7 separate regions of the Homo sapiens genome follow, and all the other regions are linked to region 1. Evidence: promoter capture Hi-C in 16 types of primary human blood cells and fetal thymus (Javierre and others, 2016). All regions are on one chromosome and are shown on one strand. Each heading gives the region's core, a stretch centred on a gene start or on the middle of the fragment in contact. The rest is flanking DNA. Distances are from core to core; before and after follow the strand shown.

What was found. The method cuts DNA at HindIII sites, captures the fragments that hold promoters and counts their contacts. A CHiCAGO score of 5 or more calls a contact.
Region 2: a contact is called between a fragment that was not itself captured here and the fragment with the promoter of RASA2 in region 1, in 1 of 17 cell types (neutrophils). The highest score is 6.1, in neutrophils.
Region 3: a fragment that was not itself captured here is called in contact with the fragment with the promoter of RASA2 in region 1 in 2 of 17 cell types (neutrophils and monocytes); the score reaches 10.8 in neutrophils.
Region 4: a fragment that was not itself captured here is called in contact with the fragment with the promoter of RASA2 in region 1 in 1 of 17 cell types (non-activated CD4 T cells); the score reaches 5.5 in non-activated CD4 T cells.
Region 5: a contact is called between a fragment that was not itself captured here and the fragment with the promoter of RASA2 in region 1, in 4 of 17 cell types (activated CD4 T cells, non-activated CD4 T cells, total CD4 T cells and 1 more). The highest score is 6.9, in activated CD4 T cells.
Region 6: a contact is called between a fragment that was not itself captured here and the fragment with the promoter of RASA2 in region 1, in 9 of 17 cell types (naive CD8 T cells, total CD8 T cells, naive CD4 T cells and 6 more). The highest score is 7.5, in naive CD8 T cells.
Region 7: a contact is called between a fragment that was not itself captured here and the fragment with the promoter of RASA2 in region 1, in 1 of 17 cell types (neutrophils). The highest score is 7.2, in neutrophils.

Annotation. Positions count from the first base shown.
Region 1 is chr3:141,483,939-141,488,276 of GRCh38, forward strand. RASA2 (RAS p21 protein activator 2) reads left to right here and starts at 3,089. Exons shown (of 24, transcript NM_006506.5): 1 at 3,089-3,278. The coding sequence starts at 3,146. RefSeq lists a silencer at 2,998-3,877. The HindIII fragment of the contact is 5,296 bases long and covers 1,904-4,338 here.
Region 2 is chr3:141,716,853-141,721,190 of GRCh38, forward strand. It overlaps the pseudogene LRRC78P. Among named protein-coding and RNA genes, the nearest start is that of RNF7, 19 kb to the right of the region's middle. The HindIII fragment of the contact is 6,066 bases long and covers 1-4,338 here.
Region 3 is chr3:141,686,667-141,691,004 of GRCh38, forward strand. It overlaps the pseudogene LRRC78P. Among named protein-coding and RNA genes, the nearest start is that of RNF7, 49 kb to the right of the region's middle. RefSeq lists an enhancer at 1-189. The HindIII fragment of the contact is 4,356 bases long and covers 250-4,338 here.
Region 4 is chr3:141,281,764-141,286,101 of GRCh38, forward strand. All of the region lies in intron 4 of PXYLP1 (2-phosphoxylose phosphatase 1), which reads left to right. Among named protein-coding and RNA genes, the nearest start is that of PXYLP1, 52 kb to the left of the region's middle. The HindIII fragment of the contact is 3,358 bases long and covers 537-3,894 here.
Region 5 is chr3:141,300,659-141,304,996 of GRCh38, forward strand. It overlaps LOC124909441 (a long non-coding RNA gene), which reads left to right and starts at 3,175. Exons shown (of 4, transcript XR_007096119.1): 1 at 3,175-3,270. The HindIII fragment of the contact is 4,192 bases long and covers 530-4,338 here.
Region 6 is chr3:141,316,885-141,321,222 of GRCh38, forward strand. LOC124909441 (a long non-coding RNA gene) reads left to right here. Exons shown (of 4, transcript XR_007096119.1): 4 at 2,391-4,338. Among named protein-coding and RNA genes, the nearest start is that of ZBTB38, 49 kb to the right of the region's middle. The HindIII fragment of the contact is 8,550 bases long and covers 1-4,338 here.
Region 7 is chr3:141,644,708-141,649,045 of GRCh38, forward strand. No RefSeq gene overlaps it. Among named protein-coding and RNA genes, the nearest start is that of RNF7, 91 kb to the right of the region's middle. The HindIII fragment of the contact is 6,213 bases long and covers 1-4,338 here.

The DNA of each region.
Region 1 (4,338 bases), core at 1,839-4,338:
ACAGTGAAACCACGTCTCTACTAAAAACACAAAAAAAATTAGCCGGGCGCAGTGGCGGGCGCCTGTAGTCCCAGCTACTAGGAAGGCTGAGGCAGGAGGATGGCATGAACCCGGGAGGCGGAGCTTGCAGTGAGCCGAGATCGCGCCACTGCATTCCAGCCTGGGCAACAGAGCAAGACTCCATCTTAAAAAAAAAAAAAAGAAAAGAAAGAAAGAAAGAAAACTTTATTTTCCAAATATTTTATATTAAGGAAACATTGACATTACCCAAGATCTCTTCAAAGTAGGCAAGTATCAGTAAAAACAGAATAATTAGAAGTGACTTCGGATGAAAAAGCAATGGAGTTTGGGGATTTTAGTGAAACGGTATAAGTCCGAAATCTGCAAAAGGAAGACTGTCTGGAAGAACAAAAAAGTGGAGTGTCCCTTTATGTAAAATTGTTTTCATACCTTTAGTGACCATTTAGTAACAGAGTTATGCACTTGGGGTTAAGCTAGTGAAAAGGAAGGGAAGTTAGAAGATTTTGACACTAATGGACAAAGATATTGATACTTTGTCCATTGGATACGTTTGTCCATTGGATACATTTGTCCATTTGTACATTGATACTTTATCCATGGATACATTTGTCCAAAGGTTCAAATAATTTCTCTGTTTATTGGAGAAAGAAATAGATGGATGAGGCATCGCTTGGCCAAGCAGGAGGAAGGCCAGAATCAGGCTGGTGAGAAAAGGGGCTCAGTGTGGCTGGAGATCAGAGGAGTCAGGTACGCTGGATCCAGTTCCAACTCTTGGCTGAAGAATTTGAACTTTAGTCATTTCTAGCATTGTTCATTACCTGTAGTGTGCTCTTGCTAGCTGGCTGAAGGGATAAATGAAGCCACTGATGTCCTCTTGAGCAGGCAACTGATAAGCTCCATTTTTTTTGTTAGGAAAGTTAATTTAAGTGGTATGTAGGAGGAATGAGAGGGATGGGGGACTTATTACCAGAGTTCCAGTCAAAAGCATGAGGTCAGTTACTGAGGTAATCCTACTACGTGCTCAGCATTCCACTAGACACTTAACACCCTGCTCCCAATACTTATTTAATCTTAATAACAACCCTTCAAAGAAGAAAGTTTAGCATTTCCACTTTACTGTTAAAGAAACAGGTTCAACCGGGCGCAGTGGCTTACACCCAGCACTTTGGGAGGCTGACGCGGATGGATCACTTGAGCCCAGAAGTTCAAGACCAGCCTGGGCAACATGGCAAAACCCCATCTCTACCAAAAATACAAAAATTAACTGGACATGGTGGCGCGCACCTGTAGTCCCAGCTACTTAGGAGGCTGACATGGGAGGATAGCTTGAGCCCAGGAAGTTGAAGCTGCAGTGAGCTGAGATCGTGCCACTGCACTCCAGCCTAGGCAACAGAGCAAGACTGTCAAAAAAAAAAAGAAAGAAAGAAAGAGAAGAAACAGAAACAGGTTTAGGAAGGTTGAGTAACTTGCCCAAATGTAAAAGGGGTAGAAACAGGCTCTATGTCTGATTCTAAAAAGGGATGCCTTTAAAAATAAGGGGGAAAAAACCCTGTAACACGTTGATACTCTTTAAATGAGAATAATTTTAACAAGGGCAATGACAGAGAATGGAAAGGAAGGAAGAGATTTCAGCAGAGTCAGAAGGATGTGGCAACTGAAAACAGCATTGGGACAAGGGATAAGAAAAAGTCAAAGTTTCTGGCCTGAGTAACAGTATAAGATGTGAACTCAGATTTGGAAAGGGAGACAGGAAATTAAGTTTTGGACTTATGTTTGAAATGACAGCAAAACATTCATATAAGAGGAAGTGGTTCACTTTATCCAACAAGTGTAAAGATCACATGGGGAAATAGAAGTCACCTGCAACACAGGCAGAACTGGAAGCTTCGCTGGCCAGGTCCATGTTAAACTCTGACCATTCTCTGGGGCTGTCCAGCCTTTGCACAGGCGGCGCGTTTGTCTTCAGTTTTCAGGTTTCCCCGTCCTATTTCTTATCTCCCAGTGCCTCTGGCCTTTTCTGTGTCTCCCTCCAGAATGAGCTGGAGCTCTCTTCATCTTGACCTTTGTGTAGTCTCTGAGGTCTGAGGCCATCACTATGTCTGACCCTCAAAAAATATTTGTTGACTGACTGGCTTATTCCTGTTGTTGCCCTGGAAAAGAATTACCCTGCCCGATTAAGTCACAGTTTCTTCCTTCTTAGGGCAGCGTAGTTAACAACCTCAACACCAGGAAATTGTCTTCCTCATCACATACCAGGGTATTATTCATGCAGTTTACTCACTGTAAAGAGTTCCCTTGAAATAAAGCTAACAATTAGTCAAAGATTTACACATTTCCTAGGGTCAGTCAACTTTTTAACAAAGCCAACTTTTAGTAGTGGTGGCGGTGGCGGGGGGGAGCCCTTCTTTGCTTTTTCTGTTCCTGAAATACAAAAGTGATGGTAAATGCTTCAGAATTTCTCTATGAGAGGGTCTCAGGCACTGCACTCACGCTGGAGTTGGGGGTGGCTGGTCCTTTTCTTGAACCAGGTTTTGCAGAGAATTGGTCCTAGTAAAGAGTATTTGTGTGGGAGGAGTTTGGCTTGCTGGCGGGGAGTATTTGGATAATACTGGAAGAGCCTCAAATGCATCTCTTGCCTCCTTTTGAATAAGATACTTTTGAGGTCCACCCACCTGCCAAATTCCATTCTATTTTCTTCCCACAGGGAGTTTCCCTGATTGGGAAGGGCCTGTATTTCCCGCGAGCGTTAGGAGATGTGCAGGTCTATTCATTGGGGGAGCCCAATTCCCGGGAGGATTTAGGGATCACGGGAGGGCCGGGGCGTTCTCCTGGTGGGGATTTTAAGGCCGCTCAGAGCCACGACTGGGAGCTACCCTTAGCCAGCGCCCCAAGCCGGGAGTACGGTTCTCTGCAGGGTAGCCCGGCTCGGGGGTGGCGAAGGCGGTGAATGGAGACCCGGGGGGGGCGGGGGCGGGGCCGCGGCGGGCGGGGCGGGGCGGGGCGAGTCGGGCCGAGGCCCGGGGGCGGGGCCAGGCGCGCGGCTGGCCTGGGCCTAGGCCGCTGCTGGGCTCCGCCTCGCCCGGCTACGCAGGCGGCAGGGCTGCGGCACGGGCCGGGCGGCACCATGGCGGCGGCGGCGCCTGCTGCTGCGGCGGCTTCTTCCGAGGCGCCAGCGGCGAGTGCGACTGCAGAGCCCGAGGCCGGGGACCAGGACAGTCGCGAGGTTCGAGTGTTGCAGAGCCTGCGGGGCAAGATCTGTAAGCGGGGGCTGGGCTGAGGGGACGCCCTGGCGGCGCTGGGCGCGAGGCTGAGGGGGCGGCGGGTTCGCGGCGGTGGCGGCGCCGAGCTGCGCTGGGATCGCGGGCCCGGGAGGGGGCCTGGGCCGGGCGCGGTTGAGGCTGGAAGGGGGTGTGTTGGGGGGCGGCGTCGCCTCGACGGGGCGGCGTGGGCCGGGGCTGCTGCTCTCCGGAGGGAGTGGGAGCTGGAGATGGGCCTGGGGTGGGAGAGCCCGGGCTGCGCCGGCGTGAGGGGCTCGGTCGTGGGGAGCGGCCTGGACGCGGGGACGCTGGAGTCCGGGGCGCGGCCGGGGGCGCGGTCCGGGGGCGTGAGGAGCTTCCGGCCGCCCTCAGACTCAGGCCTTCGCGCGGCTGCGGGCGCTGGGGAGTGGCCCCGCGGTGGGAGCCGAGCAGTAATTATACGGAGGCGCGGCCCGAGGAGGTGGCGGGCTGGGAAGTGGGGCTGGCCCGAGGGGAGGGGGCTGTTCGTTTCCTGGGCTCGGCGAGCCTGGGAGAGGTTGAAAAAGGCGCCCTGAGCTGCAGGAAACGGGCCGCCCTGGGGCCCGAGTGGCTACCGCGCGGTCTGTTCGCGGGTGAGCGCCCCGGGAGGAGCTCGGCGGGACACCTGTACTTGCCCCACCTCGCTGCGGCCGGGACTTGAATCGAGGGACGGCGTGACAGGCGGGACTAAAGGCAGGATGTAGTGGCTTCCTGTGAGCAGGTCTCAAAACACAATCACCCAGCCCGCACTCAGCCCGCTTAATTCCCTTCCTTCTCATGCGTGTAATTGCTACTTTAGTGAGCGAGCCTACCAGTTGACTAAATACGAAATTTTGCTCAGAGTTGTCCGAGCATTACTGTGGACAGATTATTTGAGTTCTGTCATTTGAACATTTTAGTTTTAAAAACGACCCTTTGGTGTCAGGTTGCCATTTTTTTTTTCACAGTGGTTTATTTAGATGAAGTGCTTTTTGTTTTCTGTTTGTAAGAGAGATCAATAACATTTATTTTTGCATTTGTCGAAAATTAGCATTATTTTCTT
Region 2 (4,338 bases), core at 1,013-3,512, 230 kb after region 1:
CATGTATTTTGAAGCTCTGTTTTTAGGTACATAAACATTTTTGATTGTTGTGCCTCTTGATGAATTGACACTCGTCATTATGAAATGCTCTTCTTTATCCTTGGTAATGCTCCCTACTTTGATTGATATTAATATAGCCACTACAGGTTTTTTTAAATGAATATTTACATAATTTGTCTGTTTTCGTCCTTTGGTTTTAACCTATCTGTGTTTTTATATTGAAATTGGGTTTCTTATAGACAGCATACAGCTGAGAACTTCTTTTTTTATCCATTTGACAATCTTTGTCTTTTAATTGTTTAGACCATTATATTTAATGTGATTATCTTTATGGTTTGTTTGGTTTTTAATCTATCATCTTGCCATTTGTTTTCTATTTGTCTCATCTGTTCCTTGTTCCTTTTAAACTAGTTTTCTGTTGCTTTTTGGATTAAGTAATGTTTATAAGTCCATTTTTATATCTTTTATTGGCTCGTGAGCTATACCTCTTAGTCTTTTTTTTCCTAGTGGATGCTCTAGTGTTTACAGCCTTCACCTTTAACTTATTACAGTCTACCTTCAAATAACTTTATACTACTTCACTTATAGTATAAGAATCTTACAACAGTATACTTCCATTCTCTTCCTATCCTTTGTGTTTTTGTAGTCATATATTTTACCTTTACCAGTGTTATAAATCCAAGGATACATTATTATTATGTCTAGTTTAAGCAGTTGTTTTTTTAATAAGGGGGGAGTTTTTTATGTTTATTCACATATTTACCATTCTGGCATTCTTTAGTCCTTTGGCTATATTCACATTTCTATGTGATATCATATTCTTCTGTCTAAAGGACTTACTTTATACATGCCTTGTAATCCTGGTCTGCTGGTGATGAATTCCCTAAGCCTTTGTATATCTAACAAGTCTATGCTGCCTTCATTTATAAAGTTTTTTTTTTTTGGCCGGGTACAAAATATTTGATTGATAGTTAATACTTTTTTTTTTTGGAGATGGAGTCTCACTCCTGTCGCACAGGCTGGAGTGCAGTAGCGCAATCTCGGCTCACTACAACCTCCACCCCCTGGGTTCAAGTGATTCTCCTTCCTCAGCCTCCCGAGTAGCTGGGATTACAGGCGCCTGCCACCATACCTGGCCAATTTTTGTATTCTTGGTAGAGGCAGGGTTTCACCATGTTGGCCAGGCTGGTCTCAAACTCCTGACCTCAGGTGATCCACCTGTCTTGGCCTCCCAAAGTGCTAGGATTATAGGTGTGAGCCACCACTCCCAGCAGACAGTTAATACTTTTAAGATGTTGCTCCACTATCTTCTGCTCATATTGTTTCTGAAGAGACATCATTTTTATCTCTATTCTTTTGTATATAATTTGTTTTTATTCCTCTGTATGCTTTTTCTTCTTCTTCTTCTTCTTTTTTCAGACAGAGTCTCACTGTCACCCAGGCTGGAGTGCAGTGACGTGATCTTGGCTCACTGTAACCTCTGCCTCCCCGGTTCAAACAATTTTTGTGCCTCAGCCTCCCAAATACCTGGGACTACAGGCGTGCAACCAATATGCCCAGCTAAATTTTTTTTGTATTTTTAGTAGAGACAGAGTTTCGCCATGTTGCCCAAGCTAGTCTCAAGCCCCTGGCCTCAAGTGATCCGCCCATCTTAGCCTCCCAAAGTGCTAGGATTACAGGTGTGAGCCACCATGCCCAGCCTCTGGCTGCTTTTAAGACTTTCTTTTTATCACTGGTTTTCAGCAATTTAAGTATGACATGCTTAGTGTGACTTTCTTCTTGTTTTTTCAGATTGTAGTTTGTTGAACTTCTTAGATCTATGCGTTTGCAGTTTTCATCAAATTTAGAAAATTTTAGACCACTCCTTTTCAAGTATTTTTTTTCTATCACTCCTGTCTTTTATTCTTCTGAAACTCTAATTATATATAGGTTAGGCTACTTGATTTTGTCCCACAGCTAAATGATGTTGTGTTCTTTTTTTTTCGGTCTTTTTGTCCTCTGCATTTCACTTTGGGTAGTTTCTGTTGTTATGTCTTCACATATTGTCTACAATGTCTACTATGCTACAAAGTCCATCCAATGTGTTTTACTTATCTCAGACATTGTACTTTTTAATTTCTGAAAGTTCAATTTAAGTCTTTTTTTTTTTTTTTTTTTTTTGAGACAGAGTATCGCTGTGTCACCCAGGCTATAGTGCAGTGGTGTGATCTCAGCTCACTGCAATCTCCACCACCCAGGTTCAAGCAATTCTCCTGCCTCAGCCTTCCAAATAGCTGGGATTACACGCACTCGCCACCATGCCTGGCTAATTTTTGTATTTTTAGAGACGAGTTTTCACCATGTTAGCCAGGCTGGTCTTGAACTTGAAATATTTTGCACAGATGAATTACAAAGTCACCACCTCTGGCAAATGAATCAGAGGAAATTCCCCTTCCAGGTCCACGCTTTGGAGCCCAGCATTTGGCAAGCAGATCTCTGTTTGATTTCAGCCCCACTTACCCTCTTGGAAGGCACCTTGTGCAGGGCACAAGCACTTAACCATGTGGGTGGCCCTGGTCACAGCTGGCGTGTAGTGAATGCTCCATCAAACCTTAGCTCATGTGAGGCTGCATGGTGTAGTGGTGAGATCCAAAGCCTCTGGAGTCGACCTAGATGTAGAATCATTGAGTTATGAAGTTTGTCCTCCTCACTTCCTGACCTCCTTCTGTGGACCCTCTGTTCCGCCTCACATCCCTGCTGTCCACTCATTTTGTCTGAAGACAGTGCACACAACCAGGCAGTTCAGGAAGCCAAGGCTGGTCAAATCCTGACTAGGCCGACTGTTTCCTCAAGAGCAAGACCTTTGAGAGAGTCTGGCAGGACCATTCAGCTCTGGCCTTGCATTCCAGCTGCTGAATCAGTGGAAAATATATACAATGAGCGAGAAAGTAGACTCATATTCAATGTGGACCCTAACTGAAATTTCATACCTGCAGCCCATGGTAAGGGCTTGAAATTGCTTTATTGATAGTCATATAACTTCTTTCAGAGCAGAGGCCATGTGTCAAACCTCTCTTAATCCCTGCAGTGCTAGGTACATAATATGCATGTAATAAGTATGCACTCAATATACCATCAGCGGCATTGCATTTGCAAAATGCTTTCACAGAAATGACTTCATTCTGTTTTCACTACAACCTTACGAAACAGACAGAACAGCCTTTTTCAGGCCAGTTTTATAGATGAAGGAGGTGAGGGCACATAGCCTGCCGTCATCACATGATCTGACACGTGATTTGACAAGAGGTTGAAGCTGACCAGGAGTCCAGGCCTTTGCCCAGATTTCTTATTCACTCATGATGCCAGAGAGTCCCAAAGACCAGTCAGCAGTCCAGTGCAAGGCCTGCACTTTAAGAAATTTCCCGTGGTGGCACATGCCTGAATTCTAGCTACTTGGGAGGCTGAGGCACAAGAATTGCTTAAATTGGAAGATGGAGGTTGCAGTGAGCCAAGATTATGCCACTTCTCCCCAGCCTGGGTGACACAGCGAGACTCTGTCTCAAAAAACATTTTTTTTCAATAGTCCTCAAAGAAATTACAAACGTAATGACAGTACAGTTTACTTTTCATAAAACTAAAGTTATTTGATTTAAAGAGCTACCCTTTGTTTTCAGACTATGCCCTTACTAATTTGATGTAAAAATGTTTGCTCGTTTACGGTGTGGATAGTTGTTATTTCTTGACATACTAAAAGTTGCCAAACCTTTGTCTGTCGCTCTAAACTTTTGGACATTTGCTGGTATGTAAAATCTAAACCAGGAAGTCCTGCATTACGTTATATCATACCATATCTTTTGAGTAAATAAACGAATTAAGGATTTAAAGCAACCAAAAATCCTTATTCTACCAACTTACCTAGGAGAAGTATCCAAACTAGAGAGAGTAGATTGGTAAAAATTGGTTTCGGGGTGTCTTTGGTCTCACATTGGGCCAATGCATCATCTTGGGTTTGGGGTTGGGGGAGGGGTTTAAAAAGAGAGATCATTCTCCAAAATAACTGGATTGAGGTTCTTTGAGTAACAATGCTTGACACGATGCCTGTGTGTGTGTGTGTGTGTGTGTGTGTGTGTGTGTGTGTGTGTGTGATTTTCTTTTGACAGCCTGATCAAATACTCTGCCTACTTAAGGGAAATTGACCTTGGAAACAATGTTCTGGGAGAAATGGCTGCTGCTAACATACTTGAAGCGCTGAGAGCCAGAAAGACAGGTAGAGTGTTTTCAGATTATGTGTTTCCCCTCCACCTGCCCACAGCCACTCACTCCTAAACGCTGTACTACTCACAACTTGCTCCGCTTTTT
Region 3 (4,338 bases), core at 1,178-3,677, 200 kb after region 1:
GGTTTATAGGCTGACATAACTGGGACATCCATGGGTACAGCTGTCTTCAAAGATGATCGAATTCAGGGGCTCAAAACACCCCACCAGGAGACCCAGAATTTGCTGCTCTTGACTCTACTTCCCTTCCAAGGGTTGGCCTTTCTCCCTCCGGCTGCAGCCAGGCTTTCTCCAAGCAGGAAAAGACAGCTGATGTGCCTGCCAACAGTCCCAGGGCTACATCATCATGACTGTAATCAAACAGAAAGTGAAAGCTTCTTTCTTCCAATGACTATGTGTCAAATCCCATACGGAGATTCTGATTGACCCTCCTTGGGTCACATACTGACCTCTTGGCCCAATCTCAGGTCAGAGCGAAATGTGATTGGCCAGGACGCATCCCACGCCCATCCTGGAGGGTAGAGCACTGTGACGGGCAGCCCTGCCAGCACCACTGGATTTGCAGTGGGGAATTGGCAGTCCCCCAAAGAGTAGGCAGATGGGAGGACAAATGCAGGACAGACAAGAACAACAGCTGCTTACTCCCCTGTAAATGGCTTTCCATAGCTGACATTTAACTTCAGCCGACAGCCACATATTAGACAGTAGGGTGAGGAGTAGATGGGAAAGAGAGGCTAAATCTGGCAACCCTATTCCATTCCCATCACGTGTGAACAAGGTTTCTCAGCATTTCAACTATAACAATGAAAAATGGAAATAGAATTGATGCTGAACTCTGCCTCATGCTAGCAGTAATATTCAATGAATACATGAATTCATTATAAAAACAAATAAATAAAACTGCACTATCCATCTCACTGAGCAATGCATTCAAAAAATTTATTTTTCTATGTAATTAGAATCAATTACATACTTCTAAAAATTGATGAAAAACTGGAGAAGAAACTTTTTTTTTTTTTTTGAGACAGGGTTTCACTCCATCACCCAGGCTGGTGTGCAGTGGTGTGATCTTGGCTCACCACAACCTCTGCCTCCCAGGTTCAAGCAGTTCTCCTGCCTCAGCCTCCGGAGTAGCTGAGATTATAGGTGCAGGCCACCATCATACCCAGCTAATTTTTGTATTTTTAGCAGAGACAGGGTTTCTCTACGCTGGCTGAGCTGGTCTCAAACTCCTGGATGGCAGCGATCCACCCATCTCAGCCTCCCAAAGTTGGGATTACAAGTGTGAGCCACCGCGCCCAGCCTGATCCCAAGAAATTTTGAAATTTGAGTATTTGTACATGTAACATTTTTATTACAAAGAAGTATAACAGGATTAGCTATAAAATCTTTTTTTTTTTTTTTTTTTTGAGATGGAGTCTTGCTCTGTCGCCCAGGCTGGAATGCAGTGGCATGATCTCGGCTCACTGCAAGCTCCACCTTCTGGGTTCACACCATTCTCCTGCCTCAGCCTCCCAAGTAGCTGGGACTACAGGCGCCCCCCACCACGCCAGGCTAATTTTTTGTATTTTTAGTAGAGATGGGGTTTCACCGTGTCAGCCAGGATGGTCTCGAGCTCCTGACCTCGTGATCCACCTACCTCGGCCTCCCAAAGTGCTGGGATTTCAGGCATGAGCCACCGCACCTGGCCTATAAAATACTTTTTAATACAAGATTTTACAGAATAAATAGAATGGAAATATATGTAAAACACAAGAAGAAAAGGGAATAATGTAAAAATGTCAATTGCTAAAGAAGAGTTTGCTCATGTTTTCTGTTGTTGCGATATTCTGGTAAGTGATGGCGAGTATCAAATGGTTTGGTTTATATTCCATTTGATACACTTAAGGGAATGATATAGCAGATTTTATTTTTAAATGTCACTATTTGCCATAATCTAAAAATCTCTTTTGAAAATTTAAAAGTGATGATGAACTGGGCCCGGTGGTTCATGCCTGTAATCCCTGCACTTTGGGAGGCTGAGGCAAGCGGATCACCTGAGGCCGGGAGTTCAAGACCAGCCTGATCAACGTGGAGAAACCCCAACTCTACTAAAAGTATAAAATTAGCTGGGTGTGGTGGCTCATGCCTGTAATCCCAGCTACTTGGGAGGCTGAGGCAGGAGAATCACTTGAACCTGGGAGGCAGAGGTTGTGGTGAGCCAAGATCGTGCCATTGCACTCCAGCCTGGGCAACAAGAGCGAAACTCCGTCTCAAAAAAAAAAAAAAAAAAAGTGACGTTGAAAATCTTAGATACTAACCTAAAAATGTGCAAGATGGTCCATAAACTTTTTAATATTCCTCTATGTTGTTATGGGAACAAAAATGTTTGAGACCACTGCTTTTTGAGGACCAAATGTTTGATCTCCTGTTCTGTGAGCTACTCCCAGGCCTCTCGGTAACTCTTCCTTCTGGCCAGAGTCAGCCACAGGGGCTTTCAGTTGATGACAACCAAAGGGGCCCAAATGCCTTAGGACCCAATGACAAGTTTGTTTTCTTAATCATAATTACTTGTTATAGTGTAGAAATACAATTTTATTTGCTGTTTTTTGTTTTGTTTTGGTTGGTTTGAGATGGAGTCTCACTTTGTCACCCAAGCTGGAGTGCAGTTGGGCGATCTCGGCTCACTGCAATCTCCACCTCCTGGGTTCAAGCTATTCTCTGGCCTCAGCTTCCCAAGTAGCTGGGATTATAGGCATAAGCCACCATGCCCGGCTAATTTTTATATTTTTTTAGTAGAGGTGGGCTTTCGCCATGTTGGCCAGGCTGATCTCAAACTCCTGACCTCAAATGATCCACCTGTTTTGGCCTCCCAAAGTGCTGGGATCACAGGCTTGAGCTACTGTGCCTGGCCTAAAATACTTTTTAATACAAGATTTTGCAGAATTAGTAGAATTGAAATATAAGTAATATGTCAATTTTTACATTATTCCCTTTTCTTCTTGTGGGCAGGAAAGGGTGCGGGTGGGCAGGGAGGCCTGTTGGGTGGCTGTTGACCTCTAGGAGAGAGCTGTCTACCCAGGTGAGACAAGGGCAATAGCGGGGAAGGCAGCGAGAAGCAGTCAGACTCTGCATTATCCCACTTCCTAACGGATTGGATGTAGGGTACAAGAGAAAGGAAGAGTCCAGAATGACTCCAGAGTGATATGTTCTAATATGTTGCTTTAAACATGCCAAAAAAGAGTTCCTCCCTGCTACATTCTTACTAATTCCAGGGCTTTGGAGTCACTTTTATAGACGGCAGCTTTGAAACATAAAGAAGAAGCAACACGAGGCTGGCAGGATGGTTCTTGGAGCTCTACTTGGTTGCATGTTCACCCTGAGACTTTAAGGAAAGAAACACAAAAACCACAGGACCCAGCTGGGTGCAGTGGCTCACACCAGTAATCCCAGCACTTTAGGAGGCCAAGGCAGGCAGATCACTTGAGGTCAGGAGTTTGAGACCAGCCCGGCCAACATGATGAAACCCCGTCTCTACTAAAAATACAAAAAATTAGCCGAGTGGGGTGGTGCACACCTGTAATTCCAGCTACTCTGGAGGTTAAGGTGGGAGGATCACTTGAACCCAGGAGGCGAGGGTGCAGTGAGCCGAGATGGTGCCATTGCACTCCAGCCTGGGCGACAGGGCAAGACTCCATCTCAAAAAAAAAAAAAAAAAAAAAAACCACAGGACTGAACTGAAGTGAATGTGATCTTGACAAGCGGCCAGATCATTCTCTTTTGTGAGAAATATCTCTGCCTAAAGTGAACATAAAATAAAGGCCATAACCAACATCAAGGTGTGTCAGAAACCCATTCATTTGACTTTGAACAGGCTACTTTTTAAAAAGTCTTTTTTTTTTCAACCAGCCAAACAGAGAGGAAGTTCAACTATGAACCAGATTACAAAATCGTCTGAAGCTGTAACAGTGAAAACTACTTCAGGGAAGAAAAAGAGAAAAAAAGGTATTTTTTCTGTTGTCGTTTCAACTGTTCCTTCCACTTCCCTCATCTTCTAAATCACTTCCTTCTTTCATGAGCTGTGTGTTCCACTACTAAGTAGTTGCACCAAACAGAGAAAAACTCAAGTGGAGAAAAAAGAACACTCAATGTCTTGTGACTTCATGTAAACCAAACACCAAATGGCTTTGCCACGGCCATCAGAGGAATTCATCTTTGACATATTCAACACTCCAAAAAAAAAAAAAGAGTAATGGGGCCTCAGCTGGTTTGGGAATATCTCTGCAATGAACAGCCTGTGGAATCTGATCAATTCAGCTCACAGACTTCCATCCTATGATTTTTACTTAGAATCAGCAACTGTGTAATCTAGAAGGAATTTGAAGAAATCAACAACTCCGTAACCTCTGAACTGGGTTAGACTATATGAGAAGCTATCTAAGTATTAAAGATGGGCAGCTAAGCATTAGGGACCCAGATTCT
Region 4 (4,338 bases), core at 966-3,465, 200 kb before region 1:
GTGAGACCAACCCATGCAGTGTGAGGTGGTGGACAGCTTGGCACATTGGGGCCCTCAAAGTTAGTTTCACAGGCTTGAGCAGAAAGTTAGTTTCACAGGCTCAAGCGTGGAGTGGAAAACTGGGTAGGAACTAGGTTATCTGAGGCTTCGATACCCAGCAAGGGAGTATGTCCAGGCATGAAGGCAGTGAGAGAGCCGGGCAGTGAAAGGGATGAAAAGATGAAGGTCTCTGACAGCCATAGTGTGGAAGATGGATTGGAAGCTGGTGGCAGCTAGTGGTGTTATTATTAGGGTAGTGATCCAGAGGAGAGACTTCACTCAGAATCAGAATCCACATCCTTAAAGTGCCCCACAAGGCCTGAGTGCCCTTCCTCCACCCCTAACCCGCCTGACCTTGCCCTCCACTCTCCTCGTGCTCACTCACTGCGCTTCAGCCACAATGCTCCTAGCTCTTCCTTCCACATTCAGGCACTGTATGCTGCCTCAGGGCCTTTGCACAAACTGGTTTCTGTCTCTAGAAGGCTCTTCCCACAGAAAGCTTTATGGCCAGTCCTCTTACCTCCTTTAAGTCTTTGCTCAAATGTCACCTTCTCAATAAAACCTACTCAGAACACTCCAGTTAAAATGACAAGGTGCTCCTCCTTCCACCCTGGTCTCCCACAGCCCCCTTAGCCTGCTCTTCTCTTTGCCACAGCATCTGTTACTTTCTAACCCAGACAAACACACACACACACACACACACACACACACAGAGTGTTCATTGTGTATTGTCTGCTTCCCCAGGCTAGAATATAACCTCCCTAAGGGCAGAGATTTTTATTTGTTTTTGTTCACTGCTGCTGCATTCCAAGTGCTTAGGACAGTGACTGACATATGAGTGGTGGGGTGTGATTAAATGTTTGTTGAATGAATAAATGATGGCAGCTGAAACTCAGAAGTGGCAGCAGAGATGGAGAGAGTGAGTGGGTCTTAGAGAAGGTTACAAGGTGGGATCAATAGGACTTGGTGGCAGGTTGGACAGGGGTATGAAAGGCAGGCCCGATGGGGCCCAGGTTTCTGACTGGGTGTCTGGCTGGTGGTGGTACCCCTCCCTGGAATTAGAGAACACAGAAGGGAGGTATGGGGGGAAGTTAGTACAGGCATTGGTGCTACATTTGAGCTATCATGAAACATTCAAGAGACAGTTTCTAGTCAGTAATAGGCTGTATAATTTTTTTTTTTTGAGACAGAGTCTCGCTCTGTCACTAGGCTGGAGTGCAATGGCATGAACTTGGCTCGTTGCAACCTCTGCCTCCCAGGTTCAAGCGATTCTCCTGCCTCAGCCTCCCGAGTAGCTGGGACTACAGGCACGCGCCACCATGCCCAGCTAATTTTTGTATTTTTTTTTTTTTTTATTTTTTAGTAGAGATGGGGTTTCACCATGTTGGCCAGGATGGTCTTGATCTCTTGACCTCATGATCAGCCCACCTCAGCCTCCCAAAGTGCTGGGATTACAGGTGTGAGCCACCCTGCCTGGCCTAGTCTGTATAATTTTGCAGCTCAGGGGCACTGGCTTGCTGGGAAAAAGAGGTTTAGTTGAGAATCTTCAGCATGTTGATGGCATTTGAAGCTGTGGGCTTATATTACAGACAGAACCTGAGGAGTGAGGGATGGGCCAAAACCAGAGTCCTGGGAAGCACCAGCATGTGGTACTCAGAGAGAAAAAGGATTTCAAAAGGGGCCAGGGATGTTGCAAATGGGGAAAAGTCAGGAGAGCAATGTTATGAGAGCTAAGGAAAGCAGGGCAATGCATTACATCAAGTAAGACCAAAAGGTCCAGAAAGCTAAAAACAAAGAAAAGTACACTGGGCTTATCTTTTCATAATCTCATGTTATTAATATGTAAGATGATAAATTCTTTAATTGGCATGAACTTTAAAAATCTAATGTGATTCCAGTTTCCAGCTATGTATGCTCTTTTGGATTGTGTTTTCTGGTAACAGTGTCACTGGTCGTCTGCCTCTTCTGCTTGCCTTAACATTCTGTGCAGAACTCAGTCATTGCTGAGATTTTAAATAAACAATAAATGTTCTCATGGGTGTGTGGATTAGCCTTGGGGTTCAGCCTCAAACTTTGTGGCATAAATAGATGTGAATAATGCATATAAAAGTGAAGATAAGGACTCCAAAGTGAATGACTTGAAGGCTTAAGATAGTAACACTTTTGATTATTTCAGTTTTCATTATGAAAGCAGATTTTCAATGAGCCCACAATAATATGAGTTTTTCCTAAAGAAAAATTTATTTTCATGGATATAATTATGTCTGCATTAGTCAGGGTACACCTATTTTGTAAGTTTATTTTGTAGCACAGGGACTCATGAATGCATTACCTTAAATAACAAGGAAGTTTAGCTCTTCCTCATGTGAAGGTCTGAAATGTGTGTTCCAGATTGTGCTAGTCAGCTCCACCTGGTCATTCAGGGCCCCAGGTTTCTTCCAGGTTGTTGTTTCTACCATCCCCTGGGGATGGCTACATGGTTGAACCCTGGTTGCTGCCATGCCTAAATAATGGCTGGAAGGAAGGAAGATAATGTGAACCGGGCATACACATGATCAGAAAGCCTGAACCCAGAAGTGGCATACATCTTTCCGTTCTGTTGGCGAATGCGGCTTTACCTCATTTCAGGACCTCAGAAATAGGATCTAACCAAGTTCTTAAGAAGAGAATAGATTTTAGTGTACGACTAGTACACTAGTCTCATCCACACTAGCCTTTAGTTTTAATACAGTCATCCATAGAGGATTGGTTCCAGGATCCTCCTTGGATACCAGAATCTGAGATGCTCAAGTCCCTTATGTAAAATGGTGTTGTATTTACACAGAACCTGCGCACATTCTCCCATGTACTTTACATCATCTCTAGATTACTTATAACGCCAAACACAATGTAAATGCTGTGTAAATAGTTGTTATTTGTATTATTTTTATTGTTGTATTGTTATTTCTTATTGGGTTTTTTCCAAGTATTTTTGGATCCACAGTTGAATCTTCCAATGCAGAATCTGAAGAGATGGAGGGCCGACTATATTTTCATCAAAATCTGAATATTTTAACAAACCGTATGGGAACTTATCGTATTCATTTCTACAGATTATGGAAGGCTTGCTATTTTCATGAAACATCCAAGGATGGGACACTTCACAGTTGAATTCACTCACATATATTTTTAGAGCATCTGCTATGTGCTAAGCACCCTCTGGGCTCCAGGGATGGAGCAGTGGACCAGGCAGACAAGGCCTGGGTAGTCAGATCCAGGTCCAGGACTCGAGTTACCTGGTCTGCTTTCCACTAAAAAGATACAGCCATTTGTTGTCAAATGTTTTTTTTCTTTTTCTTTTTCTTTTTTTTTTTTTTTTTTTTGAGACAGGGTATCTCTTTGTCACCCAGGCTAGAGTACAGTAGTACAATCACAGCTCACTGCAGCCTCGACCTCCTGGACTCATGTGATCCTCCTGCTTTAGCCTCCTGAGTGGCTGAGACTATAGGCCTGCGCCACCATGCCTGGCTAGTTTTTGTATTTTTTGTAGAGACATGGTCTCACTATGTTGGCCAGTCTCAAACTCCTGGCCCCAAGCAGTCCTCCCACCTCGGCCTCCCAAAATGCTGGGATTACAGGCATGAGCCACCATGCCCGGCCTGTTAGCTATTCTTTAAATGAAGTTTTTCTTCCACAAATCTTCATCTTTGCATGCCAAAAACAAACAACACAACAACAACAACAAAAAAAAACAAAAATAAAAAACATTGGAATGAATGCAGTTAGATATCATTAAGCAGTCAGATGCCCTGAAAACCTGGGTCACCTCAGCAAACACTTCCAGTCATGAAATTCCATTTCTAAAATTGGCAGCAAAGCTTTCTCAGATCCTCAAAAAAAGCTCCAACCTGAAATAATGGCCTGGTGCAGAACATTTGACTCCTGTTGATGGATAGCCTTTGTTTATGTGGATTACTCTTGGCAGCCTCATTGTCAGTCTGGACATTTTATTTCCCAGTTTGCAAACATTTATGTGCTTTAGCCTCAGGCAAAATAACGTACCCTGTTTTTGTGGAAAGGCATAACTCCCTTTAGCTATCCAGGGTGATTTATTAGACTATATTACATGTCTGGATTAGTATTCTCTAATTTAAAAACGTATTTTTAAAAGATGGATTTTTTTTTTAGCTTTATGTTGTTGATAGATAATAAACCCATTTTGGCAGCCATTTTTAAAGCACTTTCAAAGTTAACTGGGCCTTCAGACAGCAGGGGTTTGCCATTAGAACAGTTTATCTTTGCTTCTTTTCATGCTGATTC
Region 5 (4,338 bases), core at 1,376-3,875, 180 kb before region 1:
ATCTTTGTGGTTTTATCTACCTTTGGTCTTTGATGATGGTGATGTACAGATGGGGTTTTGGTGTGGATGTCTTTTCTGTTTGTTAGTTTTCCTTCTAACAGTCAGGACTCTCAGCTGCAGGTCTGTTGGAGTTTGCTGGAGGTCCACTCCAGACCCTGTTTGCTTGGGTATCAGCAGCGGAGGCTGCAGAACAGTGAATGTTGCTGAACAGCAAATGTCACTGCCTAATCGTTCCTTTGGAAGTTTCGTCTCAGAAGGGTACCCAGCCATGTGAGGTGTCAGTCTGCCCCTACTGGGGGGTGCCTCCCAGTTAGGCTACTCGTGGGTCAGGGACCCACTTGAGGAGGCAGTCTGTCCGTTCTCAGATCTCAGACTCCATGCTGGGAGAACCACTGCTCTCTTCAAAGCAGGGACATTTAAGTCTGCAGAGGTTTCTGCTGCCTTTTGTTCAGCTATGCCCTGCCCCCAGAGGTGGAGTCTACAGAGGCAGGCAGGCCTCCTTGAGCTGCGGTGGGCTCCACGCAGTTTAAGCTTCTCAGACTGCTGTACTAGCAATGAGCGGGGCTCTGTGGGCATGGGACCCTCCAAGCCAGGTGCAGGATATAATCTCCTGGTGTGTCGTTTGCTAAGACCATTGGAAAAGTGCAGTATTAGGGTGGGAGTGACCCAATTTTCCAGGTGCCATCTGTCACAGCTTCGCTTGGCTAGGAAAGGGAATTCCCTGACCCCTCGCGCTTCCCGGGTGAGGTGATGCCTCGCCCTGCTTCGGCTCACTCTCGGTGCACTGCATCCACTCACTATCCTGCACCCACTGTCCGACAAGCCCCAGTGAGCTGAACCCGGTACCTCAGTTGGAGATGGAGAAATCACCCGTCTTCTGCGTGCTCATGCTGAAAGCTATAGACTGGAGCTGTTCCTATTTGGCCATCTTGAGAAGTATTTCTCATTAACTTGCCACCCTTATCAGTATGTCGTAAAGATATTTCCATGTTAAGATGATAGGTGATTGATTGACTGATTGAGATGTATATAAATGTAGATGGCTCTTTATAGCCATTGAGTAATATTTCATGGTATAGATTAGACATATTTTAAAAATCTCATTAAAAATCCATGAAATGGCAACTTAAAGCCAAGGTACTAAAACAGGACTACAAGGCTTTACACAGAACAAAGCGGAGGCTCCTTCATTGTGGTGCAGGTATTTATTGATGTGAGGTTTTTTTGGGGTTTTTTTTGAGACGGAGTTTTGCTCTTGCCCAGGCTGGAGTAGAATGGCACAATCTCAGCTCACTGCACCCTCTGCCTCCCAGTTTCAAGCGTTTCTCCTGCCTCAGCCTCCTGAGTAGCTGGGATTACAGGCATGTGCCACCACCACGCCCGGCTAATTTTGTATTTTTAGTAGAGACGGGGTTTCTCCATGTTGGTCAGCCTGGTCTTGAACTCCCAACCTCAGGTGATCCACCCGCCTCAGCCTTCCATAGTGCTGGGATTACAGGTGTGAGCCACCATGCCCAGCCTGATGTAAGTATTCTTTCTCTAACTTCACTTTAAATGAAATTGAGGATCTTAATCTAATATTGCTATTAAGCCTATTTGAGGGTTTTCATAGCCATAGCAGAATTAGACTTTCTGGAAGATTTAGGTGATTCCTTTTTCCAGAAGTCTTAAAGACTGTCTAGAGAGAGGCAGAGATACATGCTTCTGTTTCTCTGAATCTCAGGGAAGCCTTCTGAACAGATTTAGCAGTCCAGACAAGGGTGGGTGTGCCACCTTGTGTTTAAACACAACCACGAGTAGCAGAAAATAGCTGGGGTTTATGTTGCAGTTGTGGCTTTAAGAGCAGCCAGCACAAAGCTCTGGCCTAAACACCAGTTAACTCCCATTGCCCAAGGCCACTGAACTGAATGTTTGGATTGTCCCCCTGTATTTGTGCCTGCCCAGGAGCCAGCTCAGATGAGTAATAGCTTCTGCTGAAGAGGAAGCGGCTGAATACATCAGAGCATCTGGGCAGGACTTCTTGAAGCCCGACTGCCAGCGGAGACTGGCCTTGATGAGGAGAAGGCATCCCTGAGGGCCAGCTCAGCTCCTGAGAGCTACAGAGCCCCTCAGCAGAGGGATGGCCTGAGGCCTGCCTTCCAGACAACATTGTCAGCAGTAAAGTTGGCCATGTAGTGCCAACTACGTGGTTTCCACAAGTGTTTCTTCATGAATCTTCACAACATTCTGAGGAAAGTCCTAGTTCCCTAATGTGAATGAGGAAAACAGGCGGGGGGAGCCCGGCAGGGGTTGAAGTCACTTTTTCAAAGGAAGAGTCACAGCTGAGTCTAACTCAAGTTCACATGATACCAGTGAACTGAAGAGCACTTATAGCTGGGCATGGTGGCTCATGCCTGTCATCCCAGCACATTAAGCCCAAGAATTTGAGATGAGCCTGGGCAACATAGGGAGACCCTATCTCTACAAAAAATTAAAAGTAAAAAAATTAGCTGGGAGTGGTGGCACATGCCTGTGGTCCCAGGTCCTTGGGAGCCTGAGGTGGGAGGATTGCTTAAGCCCACGGGGGTTGAGGCTGCATTGAGCCGTGATTGTGCCACTGCACTCCACCTGGATGACAGAGTAAGACCCTGTCATTAAAAAAAAAAAAAAAAAAAAAAAAAAAACAACCACTATATGAGATACCATGGGAAAATTTACACCATTTCATTAATCTTCACAATAGTCCTACCAGATAGTATATTTGCTGGCAAATATCGATGAATAATATAATAGGGTTAAAGCAGTTCTACATTTAAATCTAAATGGTTAGGGGAATATTCCAACTCTGCCTCTAACCATCTGTGGCTTGCTATTCTCAAGAAAACTTATAATGTAAAATGTATCTTTGCAGCAGTTACATTACATTCAACCACTAGGGGGCAGCATCAACACAATTTTTCCAGTCTTCCATCTGTAAAGGAAGCAGGGTAGTTTGAGGGTGTTTTAATAGGTTGAGCAGCTGTGCAGGTTTGCCTGGCACTGAGTAGTTTCCCAGGATGTGGGGCTTTCAGTGCTTAAAAAACAGGAAAGTCCCAGGCAAACTGGAACAAGTTGGTTACCCTGGTGTTATATGTTGAAATGGTAGTGAGAATACTACTGTCATTCCCACTTTTACAGAAAAGGGAACCACGAGGAGTAGTTCGTCTGAGGCTCCACACGGCTGCTAGTGTGCAGCAGAGCTGGGATTCCCGCTGTGCCCATATCACACGCAGGACCATGCTCTTAAGCAGGGTATGTGATAATGCCTCCTGAACCATTTAGGACTGCCTTTGGTTCCGTGCTACCGAAACCTGATGACAGTGGCCTAAGCAATAAAGCCTTTCACTTTCGCCAGTGGCGCCATTATGTCATCAGGAACCCAGACTCCTGTTCGCCTCTCACTGGCCAGAGTGGGGCCCCTTGGCTACCTCTGCTGTAAACGAGTCGAGGGAAGTGAGGATCTTTATTGGGCACACTGCTGTCCCAAACAAGCTCAGCCTCCTTTCACTCGAGAAAAAAGGGAAAGTGGGTACTGGGTAGAGAACTCGCAGTGACTACCACACTCTCCAAAGCCACCATTACACTGAAGGTGTGGATGCTGCGCCACCCTGATCCCCCACTTCAGGACTTCTTCCCCCAGTTGCTGGTGGTGCTTGGCTGTCGGTGCTTTCAGGGCACTGCTCTGGAGCAGAGAGCCATCTGCTGAAGGACATGCTCCTTCCCAGGGCAGCCACATCCAATGATTGGTCAGAATAGGGATCGGAAGGCCCAGGGACAACCCTGAGGGGCCATCTCAGCTTCAGAGCGCCTTTGGGGTCAAGCCAAGGCCTTGTGACTACAACATAGCCCAACTTCTGCCTCATCCAGCATCCTTCACAGTGTTGAGAGCACTCCCCAGCAACCCCCTGCACACACGTCTGTCTCAGACTCTGCCTCCTGGGAACTGACCTGAATGGAAAGCAAGCAAATCCTAGAGGCTAAGGTCTCTGCTAGCATGGGCAGGAAAGCTGGACTCATTTCTAGAAAAGGGATAAGTATCTATTGATGACCAATAGATCTTCTATCACTGCCTTTGAGAGGCTTACCATTTTATTGCAGAAGCTAAGTATGCACATAGGAAGCAGTAGGAAAAATTTGATTTCAGACAATCCAAAGCTAATTACAGAGGGCTGTGACTTACCATTTGTTGAACAGATACCATGGGCTGGACACTAGGCTGAACATTCAACTAATGTAGTCTGTGTATCTCACAGTATGAGTGAGCACTTGAAGTAGGCATTTATTATCCCCATTTCACACGTAAGGAAAGGCTCTGAGCTC
Region 6 (4,338 bases), core at 1,374-3,873, 170 kb before region 1:
TGTAACTCTTAGAAATTCATAAATCAAAGACAAGTTTCCTTCTCTTAATGTAACTCTTAGAAATCCATAAACCTGTTACCAGTTGAACATCCTAATCCCAAAATCTGAAACCCAAAATGCTCCAAAATTTGAAACTTTTTGAGTGCCCATATGATGCTCAAAGAAAATGCTTACTGGACATTTTGGATTTTGGATTTTCAGATTAAGGATGCTGAACTGGTAAGTATAATGCAAATATTCAGAAATCTGAAAAAGTCCAAAATACCCCTGGTCCCAAGCATTTTGGATAAGTGATACACAAGCTATAATAAAATTATTTTTATTTTTATTTCTTTATAAACAGGGTCTCGCTCTGTCACCCAGGCTGGAATGCAGTGGTGTAATCAGAGCTCACTGTAGCCTCAACCTTCTAGGCTCAAGTGATCCTCCTGCCTCAGCCTTCTGAGTGTCTGGGCATACAGGAGAGTGCCACCACACCCAGCTCCTGTGATAATATTAGAGAATTAAATAATTCAATTAACAAGATTAGTAGATACTTGAGCAAAATTTGGGCTTTGCCAACATGGAAGACAGGGCATGACTATTAGGTAGGCACAAAAAAATGCCTGCTACAATTCCCTGTATATATTTAAATTATTTCCACAATAAAATATATTGCCTACATGATTAAAGAAGGAAAGAAATAAAGGTAATGAATATGAGGGGAAAATGGAAATATAAAACTAAGAAGTGATGTCATATTTTGAGGTATTTGAGAAGACATGCTGGTAAAATAAACAGACTAATTTGCTAAAAGCCAATTCAATGATTGACCAATTCACCACATTTACTTGCTCCTTTTACTTATTTACAAGGTTTTTGGCAATTCATACTGGATGGTATTCTTTTAACAGTTTTTGAACATTTCTGCAAAATATTTGTTGGCCAGTATTCCTTTATATCTGTATAACAGCATTTTAAGGAATATTCAATCTGTCTCAGCCCAGTTAGTTAGAAGACAGGGTATATGTAGAAGAAAAATATTCACAAGATAAATAAAAAATAAATCAGTAAGAAAAAGGCAACCCAATTGAAAAATGGAAAAAGAATGTTAACAGGCTGTATTAGTCTATTTTCACACTGCTGATAAAGACATACCCAAGACTGGACAATTTACAAAAGAAAAAGGCTTAATGGACTTATAGTTCCACATGGCTGGGGAGGCCTCACAATCATGGCTGAAGACAAGGAGGAGCAAGTCACGTCTTTCATGGATGGCAGCAGGCAAAGAGAGCTTGTGCGGGGAAACTCCTCTTATAATACCATGAGATCTCATGAGACTTATTCACTATCAAAAGAACAGCATGAGAAAGACCTGCCCCCATGATTCTATTACCTCCCACCAGGTCCCTCCCACAACACATGGGAATTCAAGATGAGATTTGGGTGGGGACAAAGAGCCAAACCATATCATTCCACCCCTGGCTCCTCTCAAATCTCATGTCTTTATATTTCAAAACCAATCATCACTTCTGAACAGTCCCCCAAAGTCTTAACCCATTTCAGCATTAACTCAAAAGTCCACAGTCCAAAATCTCATCTGAGACAAGGCAAGTCCCTTCTACCTATGAGCCTGTAAAATCAAAAGCAAGTTAGTTACTTCCTAGATACAGTGGGAGTATAGGCATTGGGTACATACAGCTGTCCCAAATGGGAGAAATTGGCCAAAACAAAGGGGCTGCAGGCCCCATGCAAGTCCGAAATCTAGCAGAGCGGTAAAATCTTAAAGTTCTAAAATGATCTCCTTTGACTCCATGTCTCACATCTGGGTCACGCTGATGCAAGAGGTGGGATCCCATGGTCTTGAACAGCTCCACCCCAGTGGCTTTGCAGGGTATAGCCTCCTTCCTGGCTGCTTTCACAGGCTGGCGTTGAGTATCTGCAGCTTTTCCAGGTGCACAGTGCAAGCTGTTGGTGGATCCACTATTCTGGGGTTTGGAAGATGGTGGTCTTCTTCTTACAGCTCCACTAGGCAGTGCTGCATTAGGGACTCTGTGTGGGGGCTCCTACCCCACACTTCCCTTCTGCACTGCCCTAGCACAGGTACTCCATGAGGGCCCTGCCCCTGCAGCAAACTTCTTCCTGGACATCTAGGTGTTTCCACACATCCTCTGAAATCTAGGCAGAGGTTCCCAAACTCCCAATTCTTGACTTCTGTGCACTCGCAGGCTCAACACCTTGTGGAAACTGCCAAGGCTTGGGGCTTGCACCCTCTGAAGCCACAGCCCAAGCTCTACATTGGCCCCTTTCAGCCACAGCTGGAGTGGCTGGGACACGGGGCGCCAAGTCCCTAGGCTGCACACAGCACAGGGACCCTGGGCCTAGCCCATGAAACTACTTTTTCCTCCTAGGCCTCCAGACCTGTGATGGGAGGGCTGCCATGAAGACCTCTGACATGCCCTGGAGACATTTTCCCCATTGTCTTGCAGATTAACATTTGGCTCTTCATTATGTAAATTTCTGAAGCGGGCTTCAACTTCTCCTCAGAAAATGGGATTTTCTTTTCTAACGCATTGTCAGGCTGCAAATTTTCCAAACTTTTGTGCACTGCTTCCCTTATAAAATTGAATGACTTTAACAATGCCCAAGTCACCTCTTGAATGCTTTGCTGCTTAGAAATTTCTTCCACCAGACACTCTAAATCATCTCTCTCCATTTCAGAGTTCCACAAATCTCTAGGACAGGGGCAAAATGCTGCCAGTCTCTTTGCTAAAACATAAGAGTCACCTTTGCTCCAGTTCCCAACAAGTTCCTCATCTCCATCTGAGACCACCTCAGCCTGGATTTCATTGTCCATATCATTATCAGCATTTTGGTCAAAGCCATTCAACAAGTCTCTAGGAGGTTCCAAACTTTCCCACATTTTCCTATCTTCTTCCAAGCCCTCCAAACTGTTCCAATCTCTGTATGTTACCCAGTTCCAAAGTCACTTCCACATTTTCAGGTATCTTTTCAGCAATGCCCCCACTCTACTGGTACCAATTTAATGTATTAGTTCATTTTCACACTGCTGATAAAGACATAGCTGAGACTGGGCAATTTACAAAAGAAAGAGGTTTAGTGGACTTACAGTCCCACATGGCTGGGGAGGCCTCACAATCATGGCTAAAGGCAAGGAGGAACAAGTCACATCTTACATGAATGGCAGCAGGCAAAGAGAGAGCTTGTGCAGGGAAACTCCCCTTATAATATCATCAGATCTCATGAGACTTTTTTCACTATCATGAGAACAGCATGGAAAGACCTGCCCCCATAATTCTATTACCTCCCACCAGGTCTTTTCCACAGCACATGGGAATTCAAGATGAGATTTGGGTAAGGACACAGCCAAACCATATCACAGGTAATTACATAGTCAGAAACACAATTGGACAACCAACATATGACAGCATTTTCAACATTACTAGTATTCAAAAAAATACTAAATAAAGTAGCAGTAAGATGTTTATTTTCACAAAGCATATTATCAGATAGTTAAAGAGTAATAGGGTTATTGAAGGTATTTCTGAGATCAAGTCTTTTTGTTGAGTTTAATGTTGATGTGCATGTAAATTGGTACAGCATTTGTGGTAGGCAATTTGGCCCCCTTATCAACATTAAAATGCTTGTGATCACTTTGAGGTAGTAGGGAGCTGGGGAAGAGTGGGAGGGGCTAGGGGAGTGGACACAATGGGAGGTACTAAAGGACTGGAATGTAAAGGGGGGGATGTGTGGGGCCAGGAGGGATTTGGAAGAACCAGGATTGATTGGAGGAGGGGGAGAGGAGATAAAAGGCACTTAGAGGGACTGGTGGAAAAAAAACAAGAGAGATTGGAAACAACTGAAGAAACTTAGAGGGACAGGAAGAGAAGGGGTGGGACTGGCAGGGACTACACATGTAAAATGGAAACAACTGGCATTCAGCAAATTGACCTACAGCCACTGGCAAATGGGACCTGTTCACATTGACCAGGGTCCTTCAGGAGAATGAGATTTGTTAGCAAACAGGAAACAGTGATTTTCAGAGTGGTACTAACTGTGCTTTGCAGAGTTCTTTTACTTCCTGTTATCTTGACTCTATTATTACCTTGTATTTTGCTTCTACAAAGCAGCCTGAGCTCTTTGAAGACTCCTTAGTCTAAAGCCTCTGATGGCCAATGGTCTGCATCTTTCCCATGTGCTCCTGAGGTACAAAATGGACATTTCAGCTGCTTTTAATAGAAACTCACTGTGTCACTCATAAAACTCAGGAAGCTGTCCCAAATCCTGGGAGGACATGAAAAGAGGCTCACTCTGTAGTCAAGCACAGGTATGCCTAAG
Region 7 (4,338 bases), core at 1,271-3,770, 160 kb after region 1:
TGGCAACTGAAAGCATTTGAGCTCTTACACCTAAATTTAATTTATTTCCTAGAGTAGGTTCCCACCTGTGGAACTTGTAGACCTCATCTATACAGGCAAATCTCACTCGAGAAAAGCCTCCATTTATACCCCCATCAGCATATAGGAGACTACCTTCTCACCACAGTCTCTTCAATATTGAGTCACTGAGTATTACAGACTATCATTCTTTAAAAATCACTGCTAATTTGGTAGGCAGAATCTGCTATTTCAAAATTAGTGTTTGCTCAACTGGAGTTGGTGGAGCACAGTGTGATTGGACTTGGCATAAGAGAGCCTCCTGGCGGCCCGCCCAGGCACTGCAGGAAGAGGTGTGGTCAGTATAAGGCTTCCAGAAGCAGTGACAGTGACGGGTAAGGGTCAACAGTGAACTCACATGGGAAGGATCAAGAGCTCTTCCAGGTGAGGCCAGAAATGTGAGGGCAAGGGTGTAAAGCTGGCCTGAGCCGGCAGGAGGTGACCTGGGATCACAGACAAGGGCCGGCCCCAGGGAGGAGTGGCCCTCTGGAAGGCCCCAAAGTCTTGTGTCTTCTCAGCCAGATTGTGTGCCTCTGCACTGTGTTCCACCCAGACATGATCTTAAAGATGCTCCTTAGCCCCTGAGGATCTTTCTTTCTCTCTCCCTTTTTTTTTTTTTTTTTTTTTTTTGAGACAAGGTCTCACTCTGTTATCCAGGCTGGAGTGCACTGGCACAATCTCAGCTCACTGCAACCTTGACCCCCTCCAGGCTCAAGCCATCCTCCTGCCTCAGCCTCTCGAGTAGTTGCGACTGCAGGCGTGCACCACCACACCCAGCTAATTTGTGTATTTTTTTTGTAGAGATGAGGTCTCACTATGTTGCCCAGGCTGGTCTGAAACTCCTGAGCTCAAATGATATGCCCAACTGGGCCTCCCCAAGTGCTGGGAGTATAGGTGTGAGCCACCACACCCGGCCAAGATCTTTCTTGATAAAACCCAAAAAAGAGGATGGACTTGGTGCTCACGCCTGTAATCCCAGCACTTGGGGAAGCTGAGGTGGGCAGATCACCTGAGGTCAGGATTTCGAGACCAGCCTGGCCAACATGGTGAAACCCTATCTCTACTAAAACTACAAAAAATTAGCTGGGCTTGGTGGTAAGTGCCTGTAATCCCAGCTACTCGAGAGGCTGAGTCAGGAGAATTGCTTGAACCCGGGAAGCAGAGTTTGCAGTGAGCCAAGATCATGCCTCTGCACTCCAGCCTGGGCAACAAAAGCAAAACTCCGTCTGAAAAAAAAAAACAAAAAAACAAAAACAAAAACAAAAAAAACCCAAACAGGAAAATTGAGGAGGCCAAGATGACCTAACTACTGTAAACTGTCTGCTCAAATTTTAAACAGAGCCAAAATTAAATATGGGAATTAAGTTTCCTTACATTGAAACTCAGAAGCAACACTTGTGCCTTTTGTATCAGTCAGAGTTCAGTCAGAAAGACAGAAAACACTCCAGTTATTTCAAACAGAGAAAATTTAATTTGGGAATTTCTTTTCTTTTTTTTTTTTTTTTTTTTTTTTTGAGATAGAGTCTTCCTCTGTCACCCAGCCTGGAATGCAGTGGCTCAATCTCAGCTCAGTGCAACCTCCACCTCCTGGGTTCAAGTGATTCTCCTGCCTCAGCCTCCCAAGTAGCTGGGACTACAGGCATGTGCCATCATGCCTGGCTAATTTTTGCATTTTTAATAGAGATGGGGTTTCACCATGTTGGCCAGGCTGGTCTTGAACTCCTGACCTCAGGTGATCCACCCGCCTCTGCTTCCCAAAGTACTGGGATTACAGGCGTGAGCCATCGCGCCTGGCCTAATTTGGGGAATTTTCAACAAAATTGTTAGAAGGGCTAGAAGAGCAAAAGGTTGAAGAAAGAATGCTGGAGAAACAAAACAAAACAAAAAAAGAAACAGTGATAACCAAAGACCAGAAGCTGCTAATATCACCCTGAGTGGGGCTCTGAGACCCTACATCTGCTGCCACAATTTTGGAGCCACCATTGCAATTAGTTCTAAATCCATCAAAGAGATGAAGAGATAAAACCACTGAAAATGTTCTGCTTCTATCTGGGCTTCTAGGGCCTCGGAATGACCCTACTTCTGCTGCCTCAACAGCAACTGCGAGGACCTGCCAACAACTGCCAGGGAATGAAGGCCAGTGTAAGACTCTCCTCCCTTCTCCCTACCCTCTGGTCTCCTGCCTGTCCTTTGATTGGAGGAGCCCACGGATATCCAGTTGGCAAAGGGGCCTGGGAAATGTAGTTTGCAACCTCTCAACCCCAGTAGTTCAGAGTGTACCAGGGCAGGAATGAAGCCAAGAATAAACAGGAAGTAACTTGCACATTATCATATCCAATTCTACAACCTCTATTTTTTGCTCTAAATTGGACTATATAACTTATTTTTATATTTGATTCTGGGTGAATTTCTCATATGAATCTAACTCCCCTCCATGAGAGTTTTTCATAAAAGTTGACCACGAAAAACAATTTGTGTTGGCCATTCTACACAGAACACAGGAGCTTGGCACTGAACGGCGCTGTCTTTTACATATGGCTGCGCTGAGGACCCATGTCAGTCAAAGACAGCATTTGAGAGGTTCTGTTTCAAGGTGTACTTTGATAGCGAACATATCTACCTCAAGGAACCTCATTCTAGGGAATGTTTATTGTTTTTCCTCTGACCTGTTTCCTCTCCACCTCTTATCTGGCAATAGCACCCCACACCTTGCAATAGAAAGACCCAGCCAATTCTTCCTCTTTCAAGAAGTTGGATCTTGAATAGACACAGACACAGATCATGGTGCTGTGGAGTCATCTAATGGCACATAGTATAGTGCAATGGTACATGCCCAGGTCCCCAGGGGTGACCTGTTTTCTGCCTTTCCCAAGGCCTAGTTGTTCAGCTGTCCCTTAGCAGTGTATTAGTCAGGGTTCTCCAGAGAAACAGAACCACTAGGATGGGGGTGGGTGTGTCTTGAGAGAGAGACAGAAACAGAGAGAGAGAGAGAGAGAGAGATTTTGAAGAATTGGCTCGTGCAATCGTAGCAGCTGGCAAGTCTGAAATCTGCAGGGCAGGCCTGCCAGCTGGAGACCCAGGGAAGAGCTGAGGTTGCAGTTCAAGTCCACAGGCAGTCCAGAGGCAGAATTCCTTCTTCCTCGAGGGACTTCTCCGTCTTTTCTCCTAAGGTCTTCAACTGACTAGATTAGCGATCACCCACACCATGGAGAGTGATCTGCTTTACTCAAAATCAATTTATTTAAATGCTAATTACATCTAAAAAATGCCTTCCCAGCAACATCTGGACCAGTGTTTGATCAAAAACTGGGTACCATGGCCTAGCCACGTTGACACTAAAATTACTTATCACAAGGATTCTGCCAATACATCCTCTTTTTTTTTTTTTTGCCCTAGTTAATTGGAAATATTTTCTGTTGCTTGCAACTGCAGAACACGAACTGCTACAGAATGTAATTTGTTTCAACACCAGTCTGTCCAAATTGAACTTTGACCTGACAGGTTGATAATTTGCCTCAGTAAACAGAGATCTGACTGTGAGTAGCGGGGGTTCCCTTTCCTATGGCATCACTTAATTTTTATATGAAAATAAGGCATATGTTAATAATAGCAAAAATACTTTAAAAATAATATATGGCCTACCTCTCACTAGTTCTTGTCTTTACTTGCTATTTTTGGACCTCAGATCCCTGGAAGTTCCTGGGAGATGTTTTCGGGTGTTTCACACAGATCCCCCAGCTAGCCCAGGCAGCTGAAGTGTTGCTCTGCTTTCCTTCTCCTCCCCTGTCATCTGCTGGGCCCAGACACAGCTCTAATTGGTCATCGCTGTTAGCGCCGCTGAGCCACCCTTTCCTCCCGAAGACTGCCACCAGGCCATGTGAGGTCTTGAACTACCCAGGGCCTGCAGGGAGGCTGGGAGCTTGGCTAGGGTACCACACTCCCTTGCTCCCCACTGTCTGCTCTCCCACATCAAACCAACCACAGAGGCATGCTTATTAGTACATGTACACCTCCCCCTTCCACGGATAAGGCTAGCTCCTTTTTCCTTTAGGAAACCTCCCTGGTCTTCCACATCCAGTCAACTTCAGATAGCCCATGCTGTCAATTCTTCAGATGTGCCCAACAGATCTGAAATTTAGCAATGGTCCCAACAGGGGCTGGGATGAAGCCCCTGCTATAAGAGCAATAGAGCTACAGACCTGTGGCACCTTGGATAATCAAATCAAATTTAAAACATTGGGTCAAACCATTGGTTTGATCTAAATCATCCATACTCTCAGA